4 separate regions of the Homo sapiens genome follow, and regions 1, 3 and 4 are each linked to region 2. The links are contacts of gene promoters, found by promoter capture Hi-C in blood cells and fetal thymus (Javierre and others, 2016). All regions are on one chromosome and are shown on one strand. Each heading gives the region's core, a stretch centred on a gene start or on the middle of the fragment in contact. The rest is flanking DNA. Distances are from core to core; before and after follow the strand shown.

Region 1 (5,295 bases), core at 2,503-5,002, 3.2 Mb after region 2:
TTGTGCCCATCCAAATCTCCTGTTGAATTATAATCCCCAGTGTTGGAGGTGGGGCCTGGTGGGAGGTGTTTGGGTCATGGGCGCAGATCCCTCGTGGCTTGGTGCTGTCCTGGTGATAGTGAGTGAGTTCTCACGAGATCTGGTTGTTGTAAAGTGTGGCCCCCGCCAACCCCCGGCAACTCTCTTGCTCCTGCTCCACCACGTGAAATACCTGTTCCTCCTTCACCTTCCTCCATAATTGTAAGCTCCCTGAGGCCTCTCCAGAAGCAGATGCTGGTGCCATGCTTCCTGAACAGCCTGCAGAACCATGAGCCAATTAAATCTCTTTTCTTATAAATTACCCAGTGTCAGGTATTTCTTTATAACAACATAAGAATGGCCTAACAGAGCTGCGTGCAGTAGCTCCTGCTTGTAATCCAAGCATTTTGGGAGGCTGAGGCAGGAGGATTGCTTAAGTCCAAGAGTCCAAGACCAGCCTGGGCAACACAGCAAGACTGTGTTTCTACTAAAAATTTAAAAAGTTGGCCAGGTGTGGTGGCACACACCTGTGGTCCCAGCTACTCGCCTGTGGTCCCAGCTACTTGGAAGGCTGAGGCAGGAGGATTGCTTGAGCCCAGGAGTTCACGCTGCAGTGAGCCAAGATTGTGCCCTTGCACTCTAGCCTGGGCAACAGAGCAAGACCCTGTCTCCAAAACAACAAAACAAAACAAAACTGGCCTAACACCCTATCTAAAAACAAAACAAAACAGAGGGCTATAGCACATTCTTTAGAATATCTTAAATTATGGCAAATCTCCATCTTTTCAGGATGGTTTTAGTTTTGGGGAATAGTCAAAAGTGTGAGAAACCCTTGGTCAAATTCCCTTTCCTAGGCCTGAAGCCCCCAACACTCACCATAAATAATTATTTTTCTCTATCTTGAGAAACAAATAAGTTGAGTAAATCATGACTATTGCCCATTGTAATACAACAAAGTAATCTAGGGTCTGTAAGCAACTTTCCTAAAAAGATAAAATGCATACATTGCATCAAAAAGAACATGCAGTACATACAAAATTTCTGAGGAAGAAAAATTATCTCTGCCCTCAAATCATGCTTACTTGCTATTTTATTTTTAAATAGATTGCTCATTAAACCTACCTCAAATGGAATGACAGGATTATAAATGGATGTTATAACTGCCCTTAACTTCTTCCCCAGGGGAGATAATTAAGGGGATCAAAAACACTTCTTCCCTTTGCAGTAGTCACATGATAACATGCTATCACTTTGGTTCAGGTTGGCAAGCAAATATTTGCTTGTTCCACTTCCAAGAAAGTATAAGGTCATAACTATTTAAACATTTGAAAACAAAAATTAATCTTATCAGCATAAGGCTGAAACCAGCATATGTAATAACTGGCTGTTCTTTAGTATTGAGTTGGGAACGGCATAAAGGGGACCAAAGACTAACTCTTTTTTTCCTTCTTTCTTTCTTTTTTTTATTTTTGAGACACAGTCTCACTCTAGTTGCCCAGGCTGCAGTGCAGTGGTACGATCTCAGCTAACTGCAGCCTCAACCTCCTGGGTTCAGGTGATCCTCTGACCCTCAACCTCCCGAGTAGCTGGGACTACAAGCACATTTTTAAATTTTTTTTTATTTTTAGTAAATATAGGGTTTTGCCATGTTGCCCAGGCTGGTCTCCAACTCCTGGTCTCAAGCAGTCCTCCTGCCTCGGCCTCCCATAGTGCTGGAAATACAGGCATGAGCCACTGCGCCCAGCCAAGACTAACTCTTTTAATTGGTTTCTGTCTCTTTGGGTCCTGAAAATCTGTCTCACTATTTATTATTATTATTATTATTATTATTATTTGAGACAGAGTCTCACTCTCTTTCCCAGGCTGGAGTGCAATGGCACAATCTCGGCTCACTGCAACCTCCGCCTCCTCGGTTCAAGCGATTCTCCTGCCTCAGCATCCCAGGTAGCTGGGATTATAGGCACCCACCACCACACCCAACTAATTTTTCTATTTTTCGTAGAGACGGGGTTTCACCATGCTGGCCAGGCTGGTCTCGAACTCCTGACCTCAGGTGATCAGCCTGCCTTGGGCTTTCAAAGTGCTGGGATTACAGGCATGAGCCACCGCAGCTGGCCATTTTTTTTTTCTTTCTTTTTTTTTTTTTTTTTTTTGAGACAGAGTCTCACTCTGTTGCCCAGGCTGGAGTGCAGTGGTGTGATCTCAGTTCACCACAACCTCCGCCTCCCGGGTTCAAGTAATTCTCCTGCCTCAGCCTCCCAAGTAGCTGGAATTATAGGCGCACCACCACGCCCAGCTAATTTTGTATTTTTAGTAGAGACGGAGTTTCACCATGTTGGCCAGGCTGGTCTTGAACGCCTGACCTCAGGTGATCCACCCACCTCAGCCTCCCAAAGTGCTGGGATTACAGGCATGAGCCACTGCACCTGGCCCTATTTATTATTGAAGAATCAAAATTAGGCCTAGCCTGAAAAATGAGATTATTCTTGATTTTTGAACAGGGTCCTTGAACTGTCATTTAAAACCAAATCTGGTAATCTTTAGAGGCCACTGATGAAAAATAAGGGTAACTACAAAGTGATGACACTTTGTGTGGCTCAGAATCTGTCCTCTTAGGCAGATACAGAAGTGCAGTTCTTTTTGAGTTCTGGTAGCATTGTTTTAAAAGCTGTGCACAGCCTCCTGAGATTGCTATTTTCAAAGGTAGCATTTAGTTGGATATATGTTTGGGTAGGTTTTATTTTTAAAATGCTGTTGCTTTCTAATGACCCCTTATGTTCTAATATGGAAAGGGGAGGCAAAGTATTGTGAAAAGTAGTTGGTAAAGTAGGCCGGATGTGGTGGCTCACACCTGTAATCCCAGCACTTTGGAAGGCCGAGGCGGGCGGATCACGAGGTCAAGAGATCCAGACCATCCTGGCCACATGGTGAAACCCTGTCTCTACTAAAAATACAAAAATTAGCTGGGCATGGTGGTACATGCCTGTAGTCCCAGCTACCTGGGAGGCTGAGGCAGGAGAATTGCTTGAACCCGGGAGGCAGAGGTTGCAATGAACTGAGATTGCGCCACTGCACTCCAGCCTGGTGACAGAGTAAGACTCCATCTCAAAAAAAAAAAAAAAAAGGTAGTTGGTAAAGTTGTTCACATGAACCTTATTTATAATAGTAAAACACTGATTTATAATAATAAAAAATTTGCTATAGTAACAAAAAGAGTCTAGAGTAAGAAACTAGCTGAGCAACGTGGTGTCACACTATACACCCATTAAGACAACAGGCACATGTGTCATGTCCATTTTGTGGAAAAGATATGTAAAATAATTTTAAGTAAAAAAGATAAATATAAAAAAGTGAATGCATACAAAACAATTTCACAAAATTGAATGTTACTCAAAAATCACAGCTCATTTTAAGCTGCACAAAATAGTCATTTTTTTCTTTATAATTGCTCAAATTCATAATCAAACAGAAGAAAGTTCCTGTCTTGGAAGTAGTGCTATGCCCCAATTCTTCCAGAGCCAGTACTTTAAACAATTCCATTTCATTATTTTCCTGTAGACTAATTCTTAGGACATCAGCATATCTCTCTTCAAGCATTAAAAAAATCTCTTTAGAGTCAGTGGATCAATAGACAGTTCCTGTTTTCCACACAACTGAAAGGGTGGAGCCCCCAAACCACAAGGGGAAGAAGGAAGTTAAAAGATGTTAAATACTGGGGCCAGCTCACCCTGGTCAGCCTAGCACTCTGACCTAGCAGTCAACATGAAGGCTCTCATTGTTCTGGGGCTTGTCCTCCTTTCTGTTACGGTCCAGGGCAAGGTCTTTGAAAGGTGTGAGTTGGCCAGAACTCTGAAAAGATTGGGAATGGATGGCTACAGGGGAATCAGCCTAGCAAACTGTAAGTCTACTCTCCATAATTCCAGAGAATTAGCTACGTATGGAACAGACACTAGGAGAGAAGGAAGAAGAAGAAGGGGCTTTGAGTGAATAGATGTTTTATTTCTTTGTGGGTTTGTATACTTACAATGGCTAAAAACATCAGTTTGGTTCTTTATAACCAGAGATACCCGATAAAGGAATACGGGCATGGCAGGGGAAAATTCCATTCTAAGTAAAACAGGACCTGTTGTACTGTTCTAGTGCTAGGAAGTTTGCTGGGTGCCTGAGATTCAATGGCACATGTAAGCTGACTGAAAGATACATTTGAGGACCTGGCAGAGCTCTCTCAAGTCCTTGGTATGTGACTCCAGTTATTTCCCATTTTGAACTTGGGCTCTGAGAGCCTAGAGTGATGCAGTATTTTTCTTGTCTTCAAGTCCCCTGCCGTGATGTGGGATTTTTATTTTTATTTTTATTTTATTTTATTTTATTTTTAAAGACAGTCTCACTGTGTGGCCCAGGCTGGAGTGCAGTGGCATGATCTCAGCTCACTGCAACCTCTGCCTTCTGGGCTCAAGTGATTCTCGTGCTTCAGCCTTCTGAGTAGCTGTGACTACAGGTGTGTACCACCACACCCAGCTAATTTTTTGTATTTTCAGTACAGATGGGGTTTCACCATGTTGGCCAAGCTGGTCTTGAACTCCTGGCCTCAAATGATCTGCCCACCTCAGCCTCCCAAAGTGGTAGGATTACAGGTGTGAACCACTGCACCCAGCCGACATGGGATTTTTAACAGTGATGTTTTTAAAGAATATATTGAATTCCCTACACAAGAGCAGTAGGAACCTAGTTCCCTTCAGTCACTCTTTGTATAGGATCCCAGAAACTCAGCATGAAATGTTTTATTATTTTTATCTACTCTACTTGATTAACTATCTTTCATTTTCTCCCACACAATTCAAGATGTGCCATGAGGAAAAGTTATTTTATAGTTTAGTACATAGTTGTCGATGTAATAATCTCTGTAGTTTTCAGATTGAATTCAGACATTTCCCCTCAATAGCTATTTTTGAATGAATGAGTGAAGGGATGAAATCACGGAATAGTCTTGTTTTCAAGATTCTAACTTGATATCCAAATTCACCTTTAGATATTATAAGAAAATTTCTATCAGAAAATCCTTATGTTTTTCTGATTAAAAAAAGCATTTTTCCATCAGCCTATGTATCTGCTATGAATTTACAAAATCTACTCAACAGCTCTGTTGATTTTTCTGTTCTTGGCTGAATGTTGCCTGAGGGATGGGAGCACGGGAAGGGTAAAAGCAATGGAACAAACATGTATTTTAATATTTTAAAAGTATGTTATATTGTTCGTTGGTGTTACAAGATGATTTGC
Region 2 (5,651 bases), core at 2,234-4,733:
ACACAAATGGCAAATAAGTATATGAAAAGATGCTCAACATTATAAGTCATTAGAGAATTACAAGTTAAAGCAACAAGGAGATGCCACTACACACCTATTAAATGGTCAAAATCTAAAACACTGATATCATCAAATGCTGACGAGTATGTGGAACCAACAAGAACTCTCATTCATTGCTGGTGGAAGTGCAAAATAGTACAGCCACTTTGTAAGACAGCTTGGTGATGTCTTATGAAACTAAACATTCTCTTACTATACAACACGGCAATTGTGCTGCTTGGTATTTACCCAAATGAGTTGAAAACTTATGTCCACACAAAAACCTGCACATGGATGTTTACAAAGCAGCTTTATTGACAAAACTTGGAAGCAGGCAAGATTTCCTTCAGTAGGTGAATGAATAAACTGTAATGCATCCAAACAATGGAATAGTATTCAGCACTAAAGAAAAATGAGCTATCAAGCCATGCAAAGACATGTAGAAAACCTTAAACGCATATTATAAGTGAAAAAGGCCAATTTGAAAGGTTACATGATAATTCCAACTATACAGCATTTGGGAAAAGACAAAACTATGGAGACAATAGAAGATCAGCAGGAAGGGAGGGATGAACAGGCAGAGCACAGAGGAAGGCAGTGAAACTATTCTGTATGATACTATCATGGTGGATACATGTCATTAAACATTTGTCAAACTCATAGAATATACAACACTAAGAGCGAACCTTAACGTAAACCTTGGTCTTGGGTGATAATGAGGTGTCCAGTCTAGGTTCACTGATTGTAACAAACATACCACTCTGGTACAGAACGTTATTAGTGCAAGAGGCTTGGGGAAAAGCAGAAAGGGTATATAAGAACTCTGTTCTTTCTGCTAAATTTTGCTATGAACCTAAAATTGCTTTTAAAAAATTAATTGGGCAAAGGACTTGAATAACATTTCTCCAAGGAAAATGTATAAATGCCCCACACGCATACTTTTAAAATGTGCAACATCATTAAATCATTAGAGAAATGCAAATCAAAACCAAAAGGACATACCACCTCACACTCATTTGATGGCTATTTTCATTTTAAAAAGAAAGAAAAGAACGGAATGTGTTGGCAAGGATGTAGAAAAAGGTGAACCCTTGTGCACTGTTGCTGAGAATGTAAAATGATGTAGCCCCTATCAAAAACAGTATGGCCGTTCCTTAAATAATTAAAAATAGAACTACCACACAATCCAGCAATTCCACTTCTGGGTATATATTCAAAAGAATTAAAGCACGGTCTTGAAGAGGTATGTGCACACCTATATTCATGACAGCACTATTCAAAGTAGTCAAGAGGTAGAAGCAACACAAATGTCCATCAATGGATGAATAAACAAAATTTGGTATATACATACAAAGTACTACTACTGTCTTAAAAAGGAAATTCTGCAGCCAGGTGCAGTGGCTCATGCCTGTAATCCCAGGACTTTGGGAGGCTGAGGTGGGAGGATCGCTTGAGTCCAGGAGTTCAAGATCGGATGGGGCAACATGGAGAAACCCGTCTCTACCAAAAGTACAAAAAAATTAGCCAGGCCTGGTGACCTGCATTTGTAATCCCAACTACTCGAGAGGCTGAGGCGGGAGGATCACCTGAGCCCAGAAGGTAGAGGCTGCAGTGAGCAGTGATCTCACCACTGCACTCCAGCCTCGGTGGCAAAGCGAGACCCTGTCTCAAAAAAAAAAAAAAAGGAAATTCTGACATATGCCACAACATGGATGTATTTGAAGACATTATGCTAATTGAAAAAAGCCAACCACAAAAAAACAAATACTGATTGTATCTAGAGTAGCCAAATTCACAGAGAGAGAAAGTGAAATGGTGGTTCCAGGGACTGGGGGAAGGAAGGAATGGGGAGTTAATAGGTATAGAGTTTCAGTTTTGCAAGATTAAAAAGTTCTGGATATTGGATGGTATATAAGTTTAGTCTAAAGCTATGCCTTTAGATATTTTAAGTTCAGCCTAGGGGTTCTCGGTATATAGTGAACTATAACCTAGTAAACAGGCTGTAACCTACGCTTGAACCAATCACTGAGTTTCAGCCAAAGATGGCCACGTGTTCAAACCATGTTCAAACGGGCAAAAACCAAGCTGTAACCAATCAACTCTTTCTGTACCTCACTTCTATTTTCTGTACCTCACTTTACTTTCTCTCTCCATAAATTTTCTCCCACCAAGCGGCAGGACTCATCACTCTGAACCTTATTCTGGTTCCGGGACCTGCCCAATTCGCAAATCATTCTGTGCTCAAACTCCGTTAGATTTAATGTGTCTAAAGTTTTTCTTTTAACAGTGCACAACCATGTGAATAACTTAACACTACTGAACTATACACTTAAAAATAGTTAAGACGGTAAATTTTATGTTACCTGTATTTTACCACAATTAATTTTTTTTAAAAAAAAGCTGAGTTCACTGGCCAAAATAATTTCAAAATTCAATTCCAAAAATATAAATGCTAGGCACCAAGATTCTTGGTGCATCAGAACTATCTTCATCTTTCCTTTTCCAGAACAAGTTCTAGGCACTAAGATTCTTAGCACATCAGAACTATCTTCATCTTTCCTTTTCCAGAACAAGTTCCAGCTGCCTAAACAGGCTGAAAGTCTGGGGCTGTTTCGGCGATCAAATGACCAAACTAGAGCAGGCAATGGCTTCCACGTAGATGAAGCTGAGCATTTTAAATTCAAAAATTTCTGCCCATTGGCTACTACGTAATAACTTAAAACACAATTTAGACTGACTTAGGAAGCTTCTGTGTTGAGCAACTTCCTCAATAATCCTCAAAGACCTGTTGCATTCTGGGCCCTGCGGAGAGGAAATAGTGCCGTCAGGGAGCTTCCAGCCTAGCACAGGACGGTAAATATAAGCCTGTAACGCGAAACCCCACAGAACAAAAACATCAGGCCGTGGATTCCACTCGTGTGTACGTCAGTCACAGTGATCAACCGACTCATTTCCACGACGTTTCTTTTCACTTCAAGATGCCAAATTCAGGCTGCGGCGGTTTCCATCTGTCCCTTCCTACACCGCGGCGCCCGCTGGGGAGCCGGGGCGCACACAGGACAGCCGCAAGCCTTCTGGGCCTGGCGCCCTCCCACACCCGCTAGGAGGGGAGGAAGCGCCTCCCCGACTCCCTGAGGAGGGCGCCAGTCCTCTGGTACCCGGAGAAGGAGGGCCGGGAGCTCAGTGAGCACTCCCTGTGAGTCCCAGGAGATGGCCGCTCTCCCTCGGAAGCCGGAAGTCGGCTTCTAGAGGCCGAGCAGTGCAGACAAGCGGCTGGGAGGCACTGGAGAGGGGACAACGTACCCATTCGGATGTGCACGGTGGCGGAGGCCACGCTGCTGCCATAGTTGAAGTCGTCCTCGATCGAGGAGCGAGGGTACCGGGGGTCGGGGTCAGCCATGATGGCAACAGCACCCCTACCGGTCCCGGTCCACTAACCGCAACCGCCTCCTCCCCACTTCCGCGAGGAAGAGCCCAGCCCCAGCAAGCCGTGCGGCGTCGGCGGGCGAACACCGAGCGAGTCGATTTTCTCGCTTCAAAAATTCCAGCTGGGCGGAGAAAGCGGGGATGGCTCCGAGTTAGAATGGAAGAGAAAACGGTTTACATTCCCGGCGTCATCTGAAGTGAAACTTTTCTCAACACACTTTTTTTTTTTTTTTTGAGATGGAGTTTCACTCTTGTTGCCCAGGCTGGAGTGCAATGGCACGATCTCGGCTCACCGCAACCTCCGCCTCCCGGGTTCAAGCGGTTCTCCTGCCTCAGCCTCCCGAATAGCTGAGATTACAGGCGCCTGCCACCACGCCAGGCTAATTTTTTTATATTTTTAGCAGAGACGAGGTTTCACCATGTTAGCCAGGATGGTCTCGATCTGCTGACCTCGTGATCCGCCCGCCTCGGCCTCCCAAAGTGCTGAGATTACAGGCGTGAGCCACCGCGCCCAGCCTGAACACACTTTAAGTCCTTTCACCTTGGAGAGTTGCTAAAGTGATAGAACCCATGTCCCAGTCACCCATCCACTCAACAAATACCCATCTCATTCATCCACTTTTTCAATAATCACACCGAGGATGCATTTTTACTTCTATTATTTTAAAATAATAATAATACCTACATTTATTGAGCACTTTCTATAAACCAGGCTTTCTGAATGAAGTAATATTTAATCCTGAAAGGCAAGTAGGAGCCAACCAGAGAAAGAGCAGTGATGTAGGCTGGGCCTCAAGGGACCAACGTCTGCAAAGAGGGAGACGGTGAAGCTCAGCTGGTGTAGGGGACAGGTGGCAAAGAATGAGGCTGGATAGATAAACAAAGGCCAGATCATCCTAGGCCAGAAGTAGAATACATTGAAGAGGGCCATTACCAAAGGCAGAGAAAAGGGGATAAAGTTGTATTACTGTAAGAGAGAGATGATGGTGGCAAATACAATGGATTAGAGTGAATATTCATGATATTGTTGTCATTCCAATATAAAGAGGTGTAGACATACCCAGAGTAGTGTCATCCTAGGGTCCCTTGGAATTGTTTTGATGAGTTTACTCTGATCTACCCACATTGCCCAGTCCTCACCTTAACCACAACACCCGAACACTTAGCAAGTGGAATTCAGAACAGTTGTGGAACAGTCTATTCTAAACTAAATCCTTAAACTTGATGTTCTCAGAAGCCTTTGCCAAAAGAACTAACGTCACTTCCACAATGACAAGAAAAACAAAACAAAACAAAAAAACACTTTATCTTTTATGATTTTACAAACATTTTACAAGCATATCATTTTAATTTGTTTTTGTTGGTTTGTTTTGAGATAGAGTCTCAGTCTGTCACCCAGGCTGGAGTGCGGTGGCTCTATCTCGGCTCACAGCAGCCTTGACCTCCTGAGGTCAGGTGACCACCCCCGGGTAATTTTTTGTATTTTTTGTAGTGACGGAATTTCGCCATGTTGCCCATGCTGGTCTCGAACTTGGGCTCAAGTGATCCCCCTACCTCGACCTCCCAAAGTGCTGAGATCACAGGCGTTAGCCACTGTGTCCGGCCCCTCGTTTTAGTTTAGTTTGTTGAATGGATAGGTGAATGGGATATGGCCTCTATCTCTTTAGTCACTCTCCAGGTGAGAGGACTTAAAAAGCTTGCTGAGAAAAATCTGAGAAAAGTTTTACTTCAGATGACACTGGGAATGTAATCCGTTTTCTCTCCCATCCTAACCCGAAGCCATCCCCTCTTTCTCTGCCCCGCCGTAATAATGGAATTTATTATAGAGGACAAACTGGAGCTAAATTGGGAACCCACCTTTGTATTGACTAAAAACAGCATCAGCAAAGTTTGATCCTTTACCTCTTACCAGTTACAAAAAAAAATAAATTCCAGATAGATTGTGGATATAAATGTGAAAGGCAAAAACAATAAAACTTAAAGAAAATGATACAGGAGAATATGATTTGGAGGAAGGCAAAGATTTCTGAAACCAGATACAAAATAGCACTTAACTTCAAATGAAAAGATTGCCAAATTAAATTATATTAAAATTAGGAATTTCTAGTAATCAAAATATACCATAAGAGAGTGAAAAGGAAGCCATAGAGTAGGGGAAGATATCTGCTATACATATAACCTACCTA
Region 3 (5,403 bases), core at 2,008-4,507, 3.4 Mb after region 2:
TGGGAGATTTAAAATAACAATTTGTCCAGCCTGAACTCCCCTTTTCATGTTGGACCTGAGGAATACTGTAAACCAGGGTCAGCAAACTTTTTCTGTAAAGAATTAGATAATACATGTTTTAGGTTTTGTGGGCCCATTCAACCTGTCATGACTACTCAACTCTGCCACATAACTCTGCTATCGTATTGTGACAGAGTAAATATGTATGGGTATGCCCATGGATTCCAATGAAGCTTTATGGACACTGAAATATTAATTTCACAGGATTTTCATGTGTCAGGAAATTTTTGATTTCTTTCAACCACTTAAAAATGTAAAAACTATTCTTAGCTCTCAGGCCATACAAAAAACAACTGGCAGGCTGGGTTTGACTCCTCACAGCTTGCCAACCCCTGGTGGAAATCAACCCACTTAGAGGAAATCTGAAGGGTAGAAACAACTAAAAAATTGAAAATTCCTGTTAATGTTAGCAATGTCAAAAATCCAGGAGACCCCAGCTACTCAGGAGACCAAGGCAGGAAGATTGCTTGAGCCCAGGAGTTCCAGGCCAGCCTGGGCAACATAGAAGACCCCATCTCTAAAAAAAACAAAACAGAAAAAGAAAAATCCAGGAGCTTGTTTTGTTTTGTTTTTGTTTTGAGACAGAGTCTCGCTCTGTTGCCCAGGCTGGAGTGCAGCGGCGTGATCTCGGCTCACTGAAACCTCTGCCTCCCGGGTTCAAGCAATTATCCTGCCTCAGCCTCCTGAGTAGCTGGGATTACGGGCATGCACACCACGCCCGGCTAATTTTTGTATTTTCAGTAGAGACAGGGTTTCACCATGTTGGCCAGGCTGGTCTCCAACTCCTGACCTCAGGTGATCCGCCCACCTCGGCCTCCCAAAGTGCTGGGATTACAGGGGTGAGCCACCGCGCCCTGCCGAGGAGCTTAAGCGATCAGTTAGTCAAAGGGAGAAAAGAGGGTATCAGTAGATGACAGAAAAATTTTTTAGAGAACAAATTTTTAGACATCCGTCAACTTAGAGAAAGTAGAAAACTGTCTATAATAAACTGAAATATTTGGGACTGATCTTGATGTCTGCCAAGGTTTTGGCAGACATCAAGATCAGTCCCAAATATTTCAGTTTATTATAAACAAAGACTAATAAGTCGTCTCTACTATTGGAGGAAAAAAAAAAAAAAGACCGAAATGCAAAAATTCCTGAAAATGAGTAAATAGGGCAAAGATAAAATACTATAAATGTCTCTCTCAGTTCACAAGACCTTATCCTGGGCAGTCAACGTCCAGTTAGAAATAACGTCTGAAAATTCAGTAAGAGAAAAGGAAGTCTTCTTCTGTAATACTCAGTAAATAATGTTTAAAATTAACATAGCAATAATATTATCTGGGAATATGATAGTAAATAGCCCCTCCAAAAAACTGAAAAAGTTGAAAGCAGTTTTCCTGGAGACAGGAAGTGGTGAGGCAGATAAATTATGTTTTTCCTTATTGGTATATAACACTTTAAACTGTGTACATGTGTGACTTTAATAGAAGTGTTTAAAGATTAAATTTAAGAAAATAAAAAGTGTGAGCAAGAACTCCATTTCTATGGCAACCCGCGCGGCAGCCGCCTCTTTGTTCTGGAGCGGCGGCCACGCCCCCTCCAGTGTGAAAGGCTGCGTTTCCGGCCCGTGGGGCTCCAATCAAAATGGGACGCCTGCTGGCGGTAACGACAGGCCGGGGCCCCGCCCCCCGAAGTAGGGCGTGTGGCGTCACTTCCGGCTTCCTTCAGTCCGCTGGTCCCGAGCACGAGCTGTGAGGGGATTCACTTGTGTGCGGAACTCCTCGGAACCATGGTGAGCCTGACTCCCCTGCCTCTTGCCCTACCCCTGCTCCGCCGTGCTCTTGCCACCCCACTGCTTCCTCTGTCCTGCTAGGGTCGTAGGCTCCGTTTCTGTCTCCCCGGCCCTCCGCACATGGTGCGAGCCATGCGCGGGGCGTGCGGCCTGCGCCAGGCCAGCCGGTGGAGCTCACCACGAGGGGGAGGGGTGGACCGCAAAGCCAGCGTCTCCTTGTGCCTAGGTCTTTGCATAGTCCCGGCAGCCCAGGTCCGCGCCTCACCCGGAGCGAAGAAATTTCTAGTGTGGGACCCGCTCCGCCCTCCTTCTAGGGGCGGAGCCTGGAGCGACGGGGTCTGAGCCATCAGAGGGTGGAGGGGCCGCAGCCTTCCGAGGGTGGAAGATGGAGGCCGCGTTCCCTCGCCCGCCCGGCAGGCGTCACCTTGATGGCCTGCAACCCCTCCCTGCCTCATTCTTAGTTCAAGATCGTCTTTAGTCTCGCTGTACGTAACTGTCAATCTCGCTGGTGTATAATTTATACTCCCGGGGGCCTTGTAAATCCGAAAAGCCATGTCGCTCTCCTACAAGTCCCTCTCTCCCACTTAAATGCTTTCTCCGATGATGGAAGCTTCATTTGATTGAAAACATTGTTGTAAATGAGTTTTCTCTTAGATGTCCACTTGTAAGACTAGTGGAAGGCACCTCAGTGTATGTGTTAGAGTATTGGTACTTAAACGGAATGCCTCTTGGTTTTCCTTTTCAGGCGTCCCTTTCCCTTGCACCTGTTAACATCTTTAAGGCAGGAGCTGATGAAGAGAGAGCAGAGACAGCTCGTCTGGTAAGCCTTGTTCTAAGCATTGTTTTAAAGATAAAACTGGAGGCCAGGCGCGGTGGCTTACTCCTGTAATCCCAGTACTTTGGGAGGCCGAGGTAGGCGGATGAACTGAGGTCAGGAGTTCGAGACCAGCCTGGCCAACATGGTAAAACCCCGTTTCTACTAGAAATACAAAAATTAGCCGGGCGTGGTGATGGGCACCTGTAATCCCAGCTACTCGGGAGGCTGAGGCAGGAGGATCGCTTGAACCCAGGAGGCGGAGGTTGCAGTGAGCTGAGATCGCGCCATTGCACTCCAGCCTGGGCGACAGAGCGACACTCTGCCTCAAAAAAAAAAAAAAGTAAATAAAGATAAAACTGTACTTGAAGACTGTAAAGTTGATTCTGATAATCTCCTTGGTTTTTACTCCAGACTTCTTTTATTGGTGCCATCGCCATTGGAGACTTGGTAAAGAGCACCTTGGGACCCAAAGGCATGGTAAGAAAAATAGAAAAGTTTTATATTTTAATATTGTTTTAGAGCGCTTGGTGGAAATATAATAACAAGCGTATTAAAATGCTTTTTAATCTTTAAAACGTTTAATTATAAAAGACAAGTATGTTCTCCTTAGTAAAAATCAGAGTCCCCAGAATCACCATCCCCAATCCCATGCCCCTCCCCAATGACAAGTACTGTTATCATTTGCACGTACATCTTCTAATATTCTGTTTATGTAGAAGTATGTGTACTTCATTATGTATTTTATACTCATGTAACATACTGTTTTATAAAACAGATACTATTTATCAATACTTTTTTGTAGCTTGCTCTTTTAAATTCCTTTCAGTGTAAGTAGATAACACTGCCCCTTTAACTGTCAAATATTATCCTGTACCTTAATTATTTTATAATTTAATTATGGCTGTATTGATAGTTTCTTTCCATTGTTTTTGCAGTTACGGTGTTGAAACAAAAACTAGTGTCTACCTGTGCTTCTAGTGTTTCTAGGGGTAGATACATGGTTTGGTTACGTGGTGTATGTATTGAAAACATTTGATGAATGGATACCACAAAATAGCTATCCAGAGTGTTTATACACTAGCACTGTGTGAGAATACTGATTGATCCATGCATTCTTCAAGATGTGCTTATGTCTTAACTTGAACCAATTATGTTCCCTTTAGGACAAAATTCTTCTAAGCAGTGGACGAGATGCCTCTCTTATGGTAACCAATGATGGTGCCACTATTCTAAAAAACATTGGTGTTGACAATCCAGCAGCTAAAGTTTTAGTTGGTAAGTCTGAATATACTTTTTCACCAACCTAATAATACTGTTTGTTAACATTTTTGAAATAACTTTATAAATAGGCTGTGTTGACCAATCGTACTGTCAATTGATGTCCACTAGTTGTTAATTATCGTTGTTAAAATACAAGCTTCAGGAGTGCCCGTATGTTGGTGGTAAAACTGTTGCATTTCAGACCTCAGAGTTCCAAATAATTTGTTGAATGAGGAACCCTGGTAAGTTTAGATTGGTAGTGAATATTTTTGGAGAATTTAGTAAGCAAAGAAGCAATTTTGAGTTAATAACTAATTTCTTTTTCTAGATATGTCAAGGGTTCAAGATGATGAAGTTGGTGATGGCACTACCTCTGTTACCGTTTTAGCAGCAGAATTATTAAGGGTAAGAGCAACTAAGCAACTCTTTTTTCCTACTGTGTTTTTGAGTATCAGAGGTAATCTAGTCCTTACTTCCTCTGTCTTTACTATTGAGGAGTGCTTAATAATTTTCTATTTATAACTTTTGTTTTATAACTTTATTAATAGGAAGCAGAATCTTTAATTGCAAAAAAGATTCATCCACAGACCATCATAGCGGGTTGGAGAGAAGCCACGAAGGCTGCAAGAGAGGCGCTGTTGAGTTCTGCAGTTGATCATGGGTTTGTATAGCAAAGTACTACTGTTCTAAACATTTAGTGTTCTTTCATAACATGCTTAATGCAAGAAATCTATAGGACACTGAAAAGCATACACAAAGATCATCTTGCTGCCTCACCCCACTCCAACAGTCAAACCTACATCAGCCTCCAGAGATAGCCACTAAAGTTAAGTTTGGGTTTTTAGTCTTTTTGTATATATCATCAAAATATACAAATAAAGCAAATAGTATAATACTGTATAGAGAATTTGTTAGCCTCTTTTTAACCTAGTTAAATATTAAGCACATTTTTGGATGTCAATTTTCTGTGCAGTATTTTAATAGAGTTACACATTTGAATATTTGGCTAGAATGACTGTATTAACCTATCTGTAGGGGGAGATTTGTGTATTTGATGATTTTTAGCATTATAAAATAACTTTGTGACGTTGCGACATAGCCCAAAGGTTTCTAGAAGTGTAATTGTTGGGTCCAAAGGTAAGTGTGTGTGTTTTAAGGCACCCCCAAACCTGGGCTGCACAGCAGGTGAGCAGCAGGTGGAAAAATTGTCTTCCCATGAAACCAGTCCCTGGTGCCAAAAAGGTCCGGGACCACTGTTTTAAGGCACTTCTATTTATTTGCCCATTCACAACTGTATAATAATACTTGTTTTTCACGTCCTTTTATTTATTTATTTATTTTGAGACGGAGTCTCGCTCTTAGAGTTGCCCAGAATGGAGTGCAGTGGCACGACTTCGGCTGACTGCAACCTCTGCCTCCCGGGTTCAAGCGATTCTCTTGCCTCAGCCTCCCAAGTAGCAGGGACTACAGGCATGTGCCATCATAGCCA
Region 4 (5,775 bases), core at 1,080-3,579, 4.1 Mb after region 2:
GTTGTTTCAGACACATTAGAGAAGCCTGTCCTTTTTATCCCTTGCCATGGCAAAATTTTCAATACCATCCATATTTTTCTAAAAATGGGTGGCCTCCTTCTTCTACAAGTTATACACAAACTCATTCTTCCCTTAATAGGGTATTTTTTTTCCCTCAACGTCTGTAATTTTTAAATAAAGTGTACAGAGAATTTAACATAATACATATTTTGGAAATATACAAAACATGTGCCTATTAGTAAGGACTACTTTTCAGGTAAAAGTAAGAAAATCTAGTAAGATAGTTAAAAGAAACCAAACTACCAAATGGGCAAACTTAATCAACATTACCAATAAAGATGAACTTTTTGATGCAACAGGACAATTTAAAAAATATACCATCTATTGGTAAGAACTCTTACTATAAGAATTCTTACTATACAAGCCTTTAACAAATGCTAGCTCATTAAATACCTAGAGTACCCTCTAAGGTAGGTATTAAAAATTTTTTAACAAATTTATAATAGATTTGGCACAAATAATAGGACAATTAAAGGCTTGTTCTTCAACCCGGCTTAAAGTGAATTCATCCTAAACAAATAGGTGTTCAGTGAGAGTCAAAGTAAGTAGTATCAAATATTGAAAGTAATAGTATCAGTGTATTTTCTCCTAACACTCCTAACCCACACATTTATTATGAAAATGTTTGTTGTTCTATCTCTTCCAGTAAAATACTCAAGGTAATAAAACTCTCATATCAGACTTACACCCTCTGGAAGTCATTCCATAGAGGTATATTCAATCTTTTAACACACCATCTTATGGTTGAAGATGTTAACATGAGAAGGAGGAGAAAGCAGGAAGAGGAAGGGACTATTTGCAGAAGACGGGGAGAAAGAAAGGAAAGACACTAGTATGTGTTGTTCCTCCTCGAATTTTCCTGAAGTGAAAAAAAAACAGTGAAGTAGAGTGTTTGATGAAATGAATAACCAAGCAAAACATTTTCTACCTACACCAGTACCACTAGGAGTTGAAATAAATTCACACAATGTCTGCTGATATGTCAAAACACCTTACCTTCAAAAACATGACAGTTACCTTTTATTTTATAGTATGCTTGTGTTTCTTCCTATTTCTTGCTTTTGACCTTCAATGATAAATGTAAACTGGATTACAGTGATTCTTTTGTAAGTAAAAGGTGACTTTTTAAAAGAAACAACCAATGGAAATAGAAATTTTATTTACTTCAAATTAACTGTACTTTACTCAAATAGAAAAGAATAATTTTCACATTATGAAGCTACACAATTCCAAAATACACATGCTGAGGCTCTTTTTAAGTCCGAATTGTCTAGTAATTACAAAAAAGTGAAGAGTTTACAGATATACAAGGAAATAAAGGCGAATTATTGCAAAGAAAACAAGTTTAATTTCACTTTGAATGACAACGATTTTTCTGGAAAGCAGATACTTCACTCCTTTAAGTTTCCACCCAAGCCACAATAATTTCAAACGGTCTTGCGGATGACCCAGCTGGTCACTCTTGTTTATGTGGGGACTGGAGGTAATGAGAGCCAAAAAAAGTGCTATAAACCTAATTTGGCTAGAGCAAGTTCACACGACACGACCGTGCTTTAAAAACTTGCTCTCCATTATGTACTTCCTTCCATCAGGTTGGGGAAAAAAAAATGGTGGGGATGGTGAGTAAACACACCAGTGGTTTCATCAGAGGGGAACTCACTACTCAGGAGGTGACGGTGACGTGGTGCCGGTCCCTGAAGTACGCGCACAAGCTCCGGAGGTTGCGGGAGCTGAGGGAGGAAACAGGGACACGATCAGATTCGCTCCAGGTGGCGGGAGTGAGGAGGGGAGGAGTGACGAGGCGGACGTGCGGGGGCGGGGGTGTCCAACACAAACACAAACACAAACACGAACACGAACACGCTCAGCGTCCCCGGGGAGGGCGGACTGAAGCCACCTCACCATTCATCGCCCCTGGACCCCGCAGTCCCCCTCGGACTCAGGGCCAGAGCCTTCTGCGAAGCAACCTAGCCCCAGGGAAACGGTAGCGGCCGCAGAAGCCCCGCTCTCTGTAACGGCCGCGGAGGAGCAGCAAGCCTCCCTGTGAGTCGGTGGGAGACAAGACGGAGCGGCGGTAAGGGCGGTAGGGAAGTGAAGCGCCTCTCTCCACCTTGTTAGAAGCGCGCTGAAAGCGGCCTGCCTACCCACCCCATCGCTGCCGTTTTGCAGTCGTCGCTCCCACCTTCCGCTGCCGCCTGGAGGGAAGCCGGAGCGACGGGGGTCACGGCGGCGGTCAGAGGGTAAAGGTCTTGCTCCCAGCAGCCTCCGCGGTGGATACGTCGCCATCTTGGATCCGCGGGACAAGAAAATTCATGCGGTGAGTTTTTGGTAAATTTTCGGAAGTCTGGCAGCGGGGCGCGCGGCGGGGGCGGCAGATTCGGGGCCCCCGCAAGGCGGGGGAATGCCCCGGGGCCGGTCCGGTCGCGCCCAGGGTCCGCCGGTAGCGTCCCGGCCCACCGCTTCCCGTTGCTTTTGTCTCGGCTCCAATCGAGAGACGGAGAGCGGAGCGGGCGGGGAGGGGGGTGGCGGCGGTGGAGGGAGGGAGGGGGTGTGTATGGGGGTGGTGGTGGACCGGACGTAAAGCGTCGCTGTACTCGGGCCGCTGCAGCAGCAGCAGCTCCAGATCCTAGGCCCGGTCCCATCCGCGAGTGGTGGGGCTTCCCCAGACTCCACTCCCCTAGGCTCCCGCCAGCGCGGAGGAGCCGCTGCCGCCGCGCTGCTTCCTGGGGGAGAAGAGAAGGCGGCAGCGGCCGTGGCCGTGGCCGACGAGCTCGAGCCCGCTTTAGACGGCTCTGCCGCCTTCCCGGCAGCTGGTGCTGTCTGTGGCTTCTTACCTTCTCTCAATACACGTATATCATCTGCCAGTTATGTGTATTTCTGTTAGTGTGTTTGCAAGTGTCAGATGGGAGACACTGGACTGGCTAACGGGTGTCAGGATCCTGCAGGCCCTGGGATACCGAAGGCTGTGCATGGTGGAGGGAGAAGGAATGCAACTGCGATGCCGCCTCTGCCACCGCACCAGGAAGGTGAAGCTTCCGTAGTGTCGTAGACTGAGTCCGGATGATCCTGGGGCGGCGGAGGAACCACAGACGCTTCTGTCTGTGAAGTTGCAAGTCCTGGGTTTCTACTTCCGCAGGGGCCTCTCCACCTTTTGCTGTCGTAGGTCTCGCTTAAAAGTTTAACAGAAGAAAAGAGTAGGGTTAAAAGAGGCCTTTGTAGTTCTTCATTGAAGCACTGTTGTCTGTCCGGGTGAAAGCTGATAACTCTTGGTAACTGTGGTCCTTAGCAAAAGAGAATTGGAGTTTTCTTTTATACAAAGTATTTCCAAGGTTTTAGACCTTATATTTATTCCAGGCCTGTAGGTACGGTATTACTACCACAAAAGTCTTACATTAAGGGTACCACCCTCTCAGAGGGAACCTAAACATCAACTTCCTTCGAATCCTTGGAGACATCTTCACTTTTCAACATCCGGAAGACTGAGTGCAACATATTTTGTTTCATTTTCATAAAAGTCTTGGTCAGAGAATCCCACTCCTTTTAAAATCGTTTGGGCAATTCCTCATAATTAAGTACACTGCTTTGAACCCTTAGTTCTTGGCGAAATGGTAAAAAGTACTCAGTTAAAATCAGTTCACGAGGGAGGCCAACTTGAATTTAAGGTTCAAAGTTGAACATATTTAGTGTCATGCTTAATATTAGGAATTTTTAGAGCTCGGAATCATAAGTGTGACTGTTGATTTCCCTTTTGAAGCAATATAAATGGAAAGAATAAAGTATGGGGTGAGGGATGAGATAGAAATTTTAAAGTATCCATTTACATGCAAGGTTGATGTTGAGTTTGGGAATGCTTGGCATAATTGACAACAGTTCTTTCCAAACGTCAATGAATAAATCTCACAATTTTGTAAGGTAACTATTGCAGATTGAAAGGGTTAAGAATCATAGTTGGCTGAAATGGTTAAGTGTCTATATTCACATCCCAGTTCATTGAAATGTTTTATAATGGACCAAGATAATTAGTAAGCTCTGTATGTTGAATTTGTTTAGTTTGTAGTTCTATTATAATGTTAAATCTAAAGAAAAAAATACAAAATACACTTAAAGACAAAACATGTTCCACTCTACTCACTTATTTCTTGACTTTGTAAGATCCTTACTGTAAAAAAGGTACTTTTCTCTCATATTTTCTGAGAGCTTGAATTGTAATAATTTTTGTGAATACTTTGTATTTTAGAGAGGAAGTGAGAAACTGCTGAAGTTTTTTTTGCATCTTGATTAGTGCTTTATCAATACAAATAAGTTAATGTAAACATTTGTTGGCAGGAATCTTTTTCTAAGTATACAATGTAGAGATATCTGTAACCTAATCTGATCTCAGGGAATGAGAATTGCCTGTTTAACCAAGCAACAAATACAGCCTATACAATTTTTCAATTTCTATAATACTTTAATTTACATGGTGGAAAAATGAGGGCAAAATGCTTGTGTATGAGTGATTTATATCCCCAAGTACCTGCTCTTGAAGATAAAACTCAGATTGTGGCTTATCTTCTGATGCTGGGCAAAAAACAAAAACAAAAAAATTCAGAATGATACAACTTCCCATATACCTCCCTACAAGAACTAATTACCTTTGTTTTTGCTTTATAACTTTGGATGTTGCACTTTTTGATTTTTCAGAGATGCTTTACAGTTATTGTAATCTGAAAATTATTTGTTCAAAAGTAAATAAAATTTTCAGGTGTATGAATAGATTTTATTAGAAGTGATTCTAACCCAGTTCTCATTTGTATTCCTTTAGTAGATACTGGTGTTAAAAGTACCTGTATTTTGAAAGACCATTACAGAATTTTTTACAACCTGTATAAGTTATAGTTTTATCTTTTCTAGTGACAGACTTACTTCATAAGATTTTCTGATAATATGAATAAAATGTATGCTTCACATGTATATATGAAATAATGAGTAAGCATTAATAGACCAATGAAAAGAACTTAGCTTACAATTTATTTTCTTGCTCTTTAAAAGCAGTGGTAAATAATAGCTTTTTTTTGTTGTTAAAATTTGTAACTGTAGAAAGTTCATTCTGTTGGGATCACATATTTGAAGGCAAACTAACAATGCCATGTGCTTGCTTGAATAGGCATTTGAGGACAGGTTATTTTCCTGAGATTTCAGGAAAATATACCACCAAACATTTATGATGTTATTTGTTACCTGGATCTGTAGTGGATTTTGTAACACAAAGAGGCAGAATATCCAGGGTACCAGGTAGGGCAGTTTAGGGGCAGAGTTAATATGAGGTGTACTGTAATGTTTGAGTGGAATTACATACAGTGTTAATCAAGAGATCTAGTGCTATGGTAGAACTTATTCTGCTTGATGATACAGGTGACTGTTCTTCCTTACTAAGAGCAGTTTCTACCTGTGATACTTAAAGGGATTGAATTTCACTGTGACTTATATCAGATATTTTGAAAAGAGCTGTGCTAAAGTTGATGTCATTGTAGAAAGTTTGCCTTGAAGTGGAATGAAAGTTAGGTTTTTATTTCTTTGGTTTTTCTGTTTGACATCCTTTGATTTCTATTTTAGAATTCAACTCTTATGACTAATCATGCTGATGTGGTTTGTTCATTTATTTTCTTTGTCTATACTATTAGGAATGTCCTGGAAATAGAATTTGTACTGTGTTTTCTGAGAGCTTGTTCTCTG

The links. Contacts are between HindIII fragments. The CHiCAGO score rates a contact against its expected background, and 5 or more counts as called.
Region 1: the fragment with the promoter of LYZ here is called in contact with the fragment with the promoter of TMBIM4 in region 2 in 1 of 17 cell types (non-activated CD4 T cells); the score reaches 6.2 in non-activated CD4 T cells.
Region 3: a fragment that was not itself captured here is called in contact with the fragment with the promoter of TMBIM4 in region 2 in 3 of 17 cell types (non-activated CD4 T cells, naive CD8 T cells and activated CD4 T cells); the score reaches 8.7 in non-activated CD4 T cells.
Region 4: the fragment with the promoter of CNOT2 here is called in contact with the fragment with the promoter of TMBIM4 in region 2 in 2 of 17 cell types (naive CD8 T cells and naive CD4 T cells); the score reaches 8.1 in naive CD8 T cells.

The regions. Positions count from the first base shown.
Region 1 is chr12:69,344,629-69,349,923 of GRCh38, forward strand. It overlaps LYZ (lysozyme), which reads left to right and starts at 3,753. Exons shown (of 4, transcript NM_000239.3): 1 at 3,753-3,916. The coding sequence starts at 3,781. The HindIII fragment of the contact is 11,988 bases long and covers 1-5,295 here.
Region 2 is chr12:66,166,513-66,172,163 of GRCh38, forward strand. It overlaps TMBIM4 (transmembrane BAX inhibitor motif containing 4), which reads right to left and starts at 3,484. Exons shown (of 7, transcript NM_016056.4): 1 at 3,343-3,484. The coding sequence starts at 3,439. RefSeq lists enhancers at 2,636-2,735, 3,218-3,742, 3,386-3,465. The HindIII fragment of the contact is 2,376 bases long and covers 2,784-5,159 here.
Region 3 is chr12:69,583,688-69,589,090 of GRCh38, forward strand. It overlaps CCT2 (chaperonin containing TCP1 subunit 2), which reads left to right and starts at 1,772. Exons shown (of 16, transcript NM_006431.3): 1 at 1,772-1,837; 2 at 2,583-2,657; 3 at 3,066-3,131; 4 at 3,818-3,929; 5 at 4,243-4,319; 6 at 4,463-4,575. The coding sequence starts at 1,835. It overlaps MIR3913-1 (microRNA 3913-1), which reads right to left and starts at 1,136; the gene lies at 1,035-1,136. MIR3913-2 (microRNA 3913-2) reads left to right here and starts at 1,036; the gene lies at 1,036-1,135. RefSeq lists an enhancer at 1,803-2,142. The HindIII fragment of the contact is 1,624 bases long and covers 2,446-4,069 here.
Region 4 is chr12:70,241,104-70,246,878 of GRCh38, forward strand. It overlaps CNOT2 (CCR4-NOT transcription complex subunit 2), which reads left to right and starts at 2,330. Exons shown (of 16, transcript NM_014515.7): 1 at 2,330-2,377. PRANCR (progenitor renewal associated non-coding RNA) reads right to left here and starts at 2,257. Exons shown (of 5, transcript NR_120460.1): 1 at 2,209-2,257; 2 at 1,721-1,790; 3 at 1,078-1,126. RefSeq lists enhancers at 1,616-2,815, 1,990-2,189, 2,920-3,059 and silencers at 1,749-2,288, 2,360-2,619. The HindIII fragment of the contact is 4,785 bases long and covers 1-3,090 here.